Linked DNA regions of Homo sapiens: region 1 is linked to region 2. The links are contacts of gene promoters, found by promoter capture Hi-C in human tissues and cell types (Jung and others, 2019). All regions are on one chromosome and are shown on one strand. Each heading gives the region's core, a stretch centred on a gene start or on the middle of the fragment in contact. The rest is flanking DNA. Distances are from core to core; before and after follow the strand shown.

The links. The method cuts DNA at HindIII sites, captures the fragments that hold promoters and counts their contacts. A contact is called where the count stands out against the background at its distance.
Region 1: a fragment that was not itself captured here is called in contact with the fragment with the promoter of SLC34A2 in region 2 in 2 of the 25 tissues and cell types used here (aorta and pancreas).

The regions. Positions count from the first base shown.
Region 1 is chr4:25,692,011-25,696,902 of GRCh38, reverse strand. No RefSeq gene overlaps it. Among named protein-coding and RNA genes, the nearest start is that of SLC34A2, 39 kb to the right of the region's middle. The HindIII fragment of the contact is 9,413 bases long and covers 1-4,892 here.
Region 2 is chr4:25,652,810-25,657,800 of GRCh38, reverse strand. It overlaps SLC34A2 (solute carrier family 34 member 2), which reads right to left and starts at 1,950. Exons shown (of 13, transcript NM_006424.3): 1 at 1,911-1,950. RefSeq lists an enhancer at 1,587-2,500. The HindIII fragment of the contact is 21,396 bases long and covers 1-4,991 here.

The DNA of each region.
Region 1 (4,892 bases), core at 1,028-3,527, 39 kb before region 2:
CTCCATACGGACTGATTTATTTGGAAGACTCTATTAAAGAACAAGGAGCGAAAACACAAAGAAGTGAGAATCAGAAGCACAAGAGGTATTTTTACAAATGCATCAGGCTCGAAACCTTGGTACATGCATCCTTGTGTACCTCTTGTGCTGACCCACTCTAAATAATTTTCCTGAGATCTTCTTAGGCTATAACTGGAACACGTGACATTCAGGCCTCAAACACCTGCTGAATTTCACCATATCCATCAGGATCAAGTCCAAACTCCCCAGAGAGCATGCAAGCCTTTCTTTATCTGACCTCAGCTTATCTATAGCCCCAGGCTCATCCTTCACCCAAAGTGCTGGGATTACAGGCGTGAGCCACCGAGCCCAGTTGATCTTTGTTCTTTTCTTAGAAAGCACTTCCTTTTCACCCATTTCAGTCCTCAACCCCTTTCTACCTGCCAGGTGATCTGCAGGCTCCAGGGCTAAGCTCCGAAGCCACCTCCCAACCCCCGATGGAAGGCTTTCTTTCTTCCCTCCCCTCATCCTCCTTCTATGCATTGGGTCCTGTCATCTACTCCATTCTTACTTCTTAGAATCAATAAAATTGTGTATATTTAAGCCTTACCAACACCAAGCAATACAATGTGATCATGCTTTAATTATGGATCTCAGTACTTATAACCTTGGGGCACATGAGCTATTTCTAGGTGGGACCCTATTGAACTGTTAAAATGCTAACAGCTAAGCATTTGCTTTACTGTTTATTAGGAAAACAAGAGGACTTGAACACTAACTCCATGATTCACAAATATTATTACCCAAGATGAAGCAAAAGTAGGTGGCAATGTTAATCAATTGTAGAGGCTGCAGGGAGATAGAGCAAGCATTCTAAGGGAGAATGCTAATACCTGAGATTTAGGGAAATCTCATTTAATCCTCACAATAACCTTGTGAAATAGAGATCTTGTTCACATTGTTGAGATAGAAACCCAAGGGTCAGAAAGGTGAAATAACTTTCCTAAACATACAGAACCATTAAGTGGCGGGTATAAATAGGATCTGCAGTTGGGGTGGCTTCTTCTGCCCAGTCTCCTAGCAAAACTTACGCCCTGGGAACTGTCTACTTCTCTGTCTTCCTCACTAGAATGTGCTTAATTGTCAGTATATCTCATGCCTTGTGGGATTCCTAGTGCTTAGAGTACTTGCTGGCACACAGTCACACTTACTAGGATTCTGTAGAAAGAATGAATGACTGCAAGGGGGAGGGACCAGTGGCTTGTCTGTGCACAATTTACAAAGCAGTTTCACAAGCATTTTTTTTTTTTTTTTTGAGATAGAGTCTTGCTCTGTCGCCCAGGCTGGAGTGCATGGCACAATCTCAACTCACTGCAACCTCTGCCTCCCAGGTTCAAGCGATTCTCCTGCCTCAGCCTCCCTGAGTAGCTGAAACTACAGGAACGCGGCACCACGACCGGCTAATTTTTGTATTTTTAGTGGAGACAGGGTTTTGCCATGTTGCCAGGCTGGTCTTGAACTTCTGACCTCAGGTGATCTGCCCGCCTTGGCCTCCCAAAGTGCTGGGATTACAGGCGTGGGCCACTGTGCCCGGCCTTTATTTATTTATCTATTTTATTTTATTATTTTTTTTAAGGCAGGGTTTTGCTCTGTCACCCAGGCTGGAGTGCAGTGGTGTGATCACAGCTCACTGTAGCCTTAGACCTCATGGGCTCAAGTGATCCTCCCACCTGAGCCTCCCCAGTAGTTGGGACTGCAGCTATGAGCCACACACCTGATTGATTTTTTTTTAATTTTTTGTAGAGATGGTGTCTCCTATGTTACCCAGGCTAGTCTCGAACTCCTGAGCTCAAGCATTCCTCCCACCTCAGCCTCCCAAAGTGCTGAGATTACAGGTGTGAACACCGCTCCCAGCCACACAAGCATTTCTATTTAATTCTTCCAACACCCTTCTGTAGAAAATATGATTATTCTTCTTCTATATTTCACAGGAGAGAGCACTGATAATGAGTCTTGCCTTCATGCTAAGAGAAAAGCAGTGTAGGATCAAACTGACAGGAGGCCAGAAAGGCCCCAGAGATGTGTTGGAGGGTGGGGCAGGAGAGGGTAGGAAGGCGGGAGATAGAGAGGGAAGGACAGGGAATGATAAGAAAATGACCTGCTCTGCAGACCTGGGAAGCAAATGTTCTTTAACCTCTAGTACACTTTCCCTTTCCAGGCTCTGACCTCAGCAGCCCCAAACCACAGGAACTTCCTGTCCTGAGTACACACTATCACTTGGGATGTTTCTTTGGATTCCTAGAAGCATGCCCCTGATTACTGAGATAAGATACAAGGAGATGATGTGTTTCCCCTGAGCAGAGGAGACTTCTGAGCAAAATCCAGCTTCCGAGTTGACATGCTTCCTGGGAGTCATGCTTGTTACAATCCACGAGCCTACCTGACACATCATTATCACCCAAAGAGCATAGCTGACATCAGGTTCACTCTTGGTGTTGTACATTCTGTGGGTTTGGACAAGTTCATAATGAAGTGAACCCACCTTTTTTTTTTTTTTTTTTGAGACGGAGTTTTGCTCTGGTTGCCTAGGCTGGAGTGCAATGGTGCAATCTCAGCTCACTGCAACCTCTGCCTCCGTGGTTCAAACAATTCTCCTGCCTCAGCCTCCCGAGGAGCTGGGATTACACGTGCCCACCACCACACCTGGCTAATTTCGACTCACTGCAGCCTCCACCTCCTGGGCTCAGGAGATTCTCCTGCCTCAGCCTCCCAAGTAGCTGGGACTATAGGTGCACACCACCATGCCCGGCTAATTTTTGTGTTTTTTTTATAGAGATGGGATTTTGCCATGTTGCCCAGGCTGGTCTCTATCTCCTGGACTCAAGTGATCAGCCCGCCTCAGCCTCCCAAAGTGCTGGTATTACAGGCGTGAGCTACCATGCCCGGCCCATCTGTATGCTGTTACTGCCCAGCCTGGAGTGCAGTGGTGCTATCTCAGCTCACTGCAACCTCCACTTCCCGGATTCAAGCGATTCTCCGGCCTCAGCCTCCCAAGTAGCTGGGATTACAGGTGCACATCACCACGCCTGGCTAATTTTGTATTTTTAGTAGAGATGAGGTTTCACCATGTTGGTCAGGCTACTCTGGAACTCCTAACCTCAGGTGATCCACCCGCCTCAGCCTCCCAAAGTGCTGGGATTACAGGCGTGAGGCACCATGCCTGGCCTGTATGTGTAATTTTAGCTACTACTCCCTGCAGTGTATAGATTTAAAATGGCAAGATCTAAATCCAGAGGATCTGGGTTAAAATCTCAGTTTACCACTCACTCTTATGATGAGCTTGGTTAGACAAGTTATTGCAGCTTCTCTGTGCCTGGCTTCCTGAAATGGAAAATGTAAAACAGAGATAATAATACTCGGACCACATAAGGACACTGAACTAGGAGGTGAGCTAGGGCAAGACAAGTACTTAGTTCAGTGCCTGGCAAAGAGGAAATATTTGGTAAATGTGGGCTATTTTTGTATATCTAATATTTGGCATTTGAGATTTTTCACTTTTTTTTCTTTCCTATACAAGTAAAATGTTATCTATTTTGTCACTGTTTTTAATCCAACACTCTTTTCATTAATTCTAGTTATTTTTAAATTTTTTATAGAGAAAGGGTCTCACTATGTTGCCTAGACTGGTCTCGAACTCCTGTGTTCAAGCAACTCTTCCACCTCAGCCTCCCAAGTAGTTGAGATTACAGACATGAGCCACTACACCCAATTAATTTTTAATTTTTTGTAGAGATTGGAGTCTTGCTATGTTGTCCAGTTTGGTCTCAAACTCCTGGGGTCAAGCAATCCTCCTGCCTCAGCCTCCCACAGTGCTGGAGTTACAGGCATGAGACACCATGCCCAGCCCTGGAAGGGTTGGTCTTGTTGTCTCAGGGGTGTCAGAGGTGGAAGAAAATCTGCGTGTAAGTGAACCCTTGAAGTTCAAACTTGTGTTGTTCAAGGTCAACTGTATAATTAAAGTGATCTACGAGTATAGAAAAGCTTTATTTATTTTTATTTTTTATTTTTTTTTGAGATGGAGTTTCGCTCTTGTCGCCCAGGCTGGAGTGCAGTGGCGCAATCTCAGCTCACTGCAACCTCCACCTCCCAGGTTCAAACAATTCTCCTGCCTCAGCCTCCTGAGTAGCTGGGATTACAGGTGCCCACCACCACACCTGGCTAATTTTTTGTATTTTTAGTAGAGATCAGGTTTTGCCATGCTGGTCAGGCTGGTCTAGAACTCCTGACCTCGTGATCCACCTGCCTCGGCCTCCCAAAGTGCTGGGATTACAGGCTTGAGCCACCACGCCTGGCAAAACTTTATGTTATGTTTGAAGAAAATGAGAGTTAAATATATATCTATGAAATTAACTGTTAATTATATCTTTCAGAACTTCTGTACCATTGACAGCCAAGAGAAATCTACTTTGTGCTACATATGTTATTTAAAATTTTCTAGTAGCCATGATTAAAAAAATAAAAAGGTGGCCATGTTGTAGGAAGTCAGGGATCCCAAACAGAGGAACTGGCTGAAGCCATGGTAGAAGAACATAAATTTTGACGATTTCATGGACATTTATCAGTTCCCAAAATTAATACTTTTATAATTTCTTATGCCTATCTTTACTGCAATCTCTGAACATAAATTGTGACAATTTCATGGACATTTATCACTTCCCCAACTAATACTCTTATAATTTCTTATGCCTGTCTTTAACTCTTAATCACATTATCTTTGTAAGCTGAGGACGTATGTCACCTCAGGACCCTGTGATGATTGCGTTAACTGTACAAATTGTTTGTAAAACGTGTGTTTGAACAATACGAAATCAGTGCACCCTGAAAAAGAACAA
Region 2 (4,991 bases), core at 701-3,200:
GACAACATAGTGAGACCCTGTCCCTACATTACTGCTAATAATAATCTCTTCAAGGACACAATGGTGGTAGTGATGAGAGGAGTCAAGGAAGCAATTGGCCTGGGCCTCACATTGATAGATAACTTGAGTTTACATTTTTGATGTGGCACACTAATAAACTTTAAACTTGGGCCATATCACCAAACCACACCCTCACCATGCACTATCAATTTGTATTTATGATATCTTAAAATAAATCCTGTAAATAACTTGTAACTATATCAGTTGTGCTGCATTGTATTGGGGGGGGAGGTTAAAGCAGTTAAATTTGTAAATATAAACATCTTAAAAATACCGCAATCTTTTTATAGCCCTCTTTTTGTACCTTTGCATTTTAAAAATTCACTGAGATGAATAAATTCCCTGGGATGTCCTGATTGCTCCCTGCGGTCCCCAGAATGGAAGTGGGGGTGTGGGTGAGGATGGAGGAGTGGAAGATGCCTGAAACTGGTTACTAAAGCCCAGTTTATTCCAAAGCACTCTGATTCTGTGAGGCTGTTTTCCTCATTGCATTGAATTCGGGCTATTTTTTTGTCCCCTTTGTGTCTAACAGCAACAATCAGAAGCCCATCCTCATACCACAGGGGACTTGCTTCATTGAGACAGTTGAGCAATTTGGGGAGTTTTGGATGGGGCAATTTGTTTAGCATCCAAACCTTTTACAAAGCACGCCTTTCTTATCACCCATTCCCCAAATTACAAAAGCAGAGAAGATCATGATCAGCGGGCATGGGACAAAAGAGGCAATCTTTTTTATTTTTGTTTTTCTTTAACAATCTGAAACAACGGCCACTCCTACAAGCACAGTTTTCCAAGAATACCCAACCCAGGACAAGTTAAAGAACTGCCAGCACACAAGGGAAGAAGGAAAAAGGAAAGAACGACAAGGCCCAGAGCGATCAGGGCTAACACAGAAACCCCCTGGGGCACCCAAACAGGAAGAGGGGACTCGAGTGATGAAATCCACAAGCTGCTTCCATGAAATCAACATGTTTGAAAAAGGGACCTCCTCAAAGAAAACGAGATTCCAACTCTCTTCAGCGCAGTGCGAGCCACCGGTGGCAGGCACCGTTGCAGGGAACCTGAACTAACTCCATGCCATGCAGCCCCCAACTTTCTGGCCTGAGGATGCGCAGTCCCCGAACCCAACCACTCCTGTGCACATCTCCTTGTAAGTTATCTCCCCAGCCTGCTCACCCATTTGTGGCTTGGAAAACATAAATTGCGGGCTTTGCTCCCCAAGACGGCTGAAGGACGGACCCTTCGCTGATGGCCACGGGCCCTAATAGAAACAAACTAAGACTGTCTCCTAGGCACCTTAAATAACTGCAAACAAGCACTGTACCACGTGGAAGTCACACTTGGGTGGGGGGCAGTGTCACATCACCAGGCAGCCACCACAAACCTAGAATTTTCATGGTCCTGAGATGTCGCATTCCCCTTCTTATAAAGAATGGAAGACGGCAGCCCAGGGGCTCACAGGGACTAGCGTTGTCACATGGCTAGTTGGTGACCCAGCCACAAAGAGCCTAGCTATCCTGATTCCTAGGTGGAGATTTCTATCCCCTGGGCCTTTCCTCTTCCAAACCACGACTCTCAAAACAGTGATCATTTTAGAATCCACAAGTGTGGCTGATTAATAACACTGTCGATCGTAAGAGTGTAGCAGCAAAAGCTGTAATAAAAGCAATAACCGTAACATTAAGAAGAAAACAACTTGAACATTGTGGAGAGCTTTGTGTTTTTCACTTCTGCGGCCCAAAGCCAGCCAAGTTCCTTGAAGTCAGCACCGAGAGGTATTTGCAAGAATTAAGTGAATCAAAGTCCTTGAAAGAGCGAGGAAGCGCCCCTGCCCCGGCGGCGGTACTCACCAGCGCTCCCTCCGCAGGTGCTGGGCTGGAGGCGGCGGCCAGGTGGAGCGCAGCGCCCCGGGTATATATGGCGAAGGTGTTGCGCAAAGAGGCTGGCCGCTGTCATCACGCCCCTCGCACATTCCAGGACCGCCTGCCGCAGCCGCCGCCGGGGCACTGCCTACCTGCCGCCTTAATGAACCCATCGCGACTTCGCCCGCTGCGCGGAGAAGACGCGCGGCCAGCCAGGCTGCCGAGAGAAAAGCTCCGACGGGCCCCGCCGCGCGAACTGGCCCGAACGGCCCCAAACGGCCCCGCGCCCCTCGGCGCCCCGCGCGCCCTAGCCTGGCTGGTGCGCGCCCTCTCCCGCCCCGACTCGGTCCGCACGAGATTCCCGCAAGTGGGGCTCTCCCGCCCCTGCCTTCTCCTCAAGAACTTGAACCTTCTAGTCTAGCTCCTGTGAGGCTCAAGAGGTCAGAGACGTGAAGACACAGATAAAAGCCAGTTGGAAAGTCAGGGATAAAGCCCTTGGAAACAAAGCCTGGATTGTTCACCTTTATCAGTCTGTGGGGCGCTTTCTGCCCTGGGAGTCTGGGCTCTAGGTCCGCAATGGGAAAGGCTGGGACCGTCAAGCTGAGGAAAAGGAAGGGGGCTGTTCTCACCACTCCGTCCTAAGCCTGCTGCGGGTTTGGCAAACCACTGCGCTCGTTTCACATCCTGCTCTGCCTCGTGTCACCTGCGTGTGTATACAACAGTTCTCCAAACTGCTGTGAGATAGGATCTGTCCCAGGGAGAGTCCACCCCCATGCTTATCCCAACAGCTCCCCAGTTCTGTGCCGGGCACTGCTGGGCAGGCTTTGTCTCCAATGTGCACACGAAAGCCTTCCCTGGGGCTAAGACTGGCGCCCTCTCTAGCTGAGGTTTAAGGGGTTAGGGGATATGATACAATTACCCAGGATTTGCTGAGCAGGAAGAAAACCTGCTTCTTATTCTGAAACCCAGACCCTCTCCTCTGCTGCGCACTCTCCTGGTTTTATAGTGGAGCACAGTGAGGCTCAGTGAGCTTACTAGTTGCCCAGCTCCTCACAACAGCGGAAGCACCCTACTGGAATTAGCTGGTTTCATTCCAACATCGAGTTCTCTCCACTGTGCAAGGGGAAGGACTCGGGAGCACGACTTCCAGGAGCCTAGAGCTCTGGGGCTGGTGTTGGCGGTGGCTAAGCACACTGACTCTGGGCCGAAACTCCGGGAAATCAGTTCCCTGTTCTGCCCCTTGCTTTCCCTGGCTCCATTTGCTTATGTGCAAACTGGGAATAATGGTCCCCGTTGGAGTAAAGTGAGCTAAAATATGTAAAGAATGTGGAATGGTACTTGGCACATAAATAGTATTCAGTGCGAGTTAACCATGATCGTTTTCACAGGGAAACTCTGGTGTTGGGAGAAGATGGGTGGGAAGCCTTGATTAGACTCATCTAGAACCTTCACTGGAGAAATCAAATCTGCTTGGGTTGCTGTTATTACAGGGATGATGGTTTTGCTAGTGGGTGTTGGCCTTCAGATCCAACTCTCAGACAATGATCAACCAGTACCTTTGCAACAAGCAGCTTCTAAAGCATAGTCCACTGATGACAGGAATCCCCTGGCACCTGTTCACCAAGCTCAGCTCTGCCTCCAGCCCTGGGCAAGGCGGACTGCAGACACCACTTGGCTTTACAATGAGGAAGGGCTCTACTGCCAGGGTGCAGAGGAGGAAGCGTGCTGCACACACTGCTGTCGGTGAACTCGACCCGGATTCGGCAAAGCCTGGCTCTTAGTTCATGTCCTGCTCTGCCCTGTGCTTGGGGGTTCACAGGAGCAGGTCTTAACAGGACAGTCACCTCAATGAGAATCCCCTCCTGACTGTGGGCTTTCATTTGGGACACAGACCTAATTGCCTTTCCATTACTTTCAACAAGGAGTGAATGTAGGAGGGAGACCAAAATTTCAAAAACTTGGAGAAAGAAAAAGGTATCCCTTTTGTGTTCCGATTAAAAAGGCAAAACAGGTTCAATCCCGAACATTGTTCTCTTAATGTGTATAGATCTTGGTAGTAGATCAGGGATGGTATCTGATTCTAGTTTGGGATTGTAATTTATATAATTTTTTTTTACAAAGTCTGGAGGAAAGGTAGATGGCGTGTCTGTGTTCATCACTCTATAATCTCTCCCTTTAGGAGAGTACAATTTGCTGAAGAACATTTTCCTATCGTTATTCCATCTGAGATACAAAATACTCTCACCATTTAGTACTTCAAACATAGAGCCTTATGTATAAATACAAACATCTAAAATACTTTCATCGAGGCTGGGTGTGGTGGCTCACATCTGTAATCCCAACAGTTTGGGAGGCCGAGGCAGGCAGATCACTTGAAGCCAGGAGTTGGAGACCCGTCTACCAACATGGCGAAACCCCGTCTCTGCTAAAAATATAAAAAAATCCCAGCTGCTCAGGAGGCTGAGTCACAAGAATCACTTGAACCCGGGAGGCGGAAGTTGCAGTGAGAGCTAACTGCAATCCAGCCTGGATGACAGAATAAGAATCTGTCTCAAAAAAATTAAATTAAAAAAAAATACTTTCATCAAAAAAGTGTCACCAAACCGGGCACAGTGGCTCAAGCCTGTAATCCCAGCATTTTGGGAGGCCGAGACGGGCGGAACACAAGGTCAGGAGATCGAGATGATCCTGGCTAACACAGTGAAACCCTGTCTCTACTAAAAATACAAAAAAAAATTAGCCGGGCATGGTGGCGGGTGCCTGTAGTCCCAGCTACTCAGGAGGCTGAGGCAGGAGAATGGCATGAACCTGGGAGGCAGAGCTTGCAGTGAGCCAAGATCGTGCCACTGCACTCCAGCCTGGGCGACAGAGTGAGACTCTGTCTCAAAAAAAAAAAGTATTACCATTTTTTCAACTCATTTCAGTATATTTTTGCGCCTATTGTCCTATGAGGTGAGATTTAACAAGTTGGTAGGCTCTGTGTTAATCTGGAGAGGAAACACCCCATCCAGGGCTGGCTGCTACCCAGCTTCAGATATTGCATGAGAAAATATAGTCAGATGCTGTCAG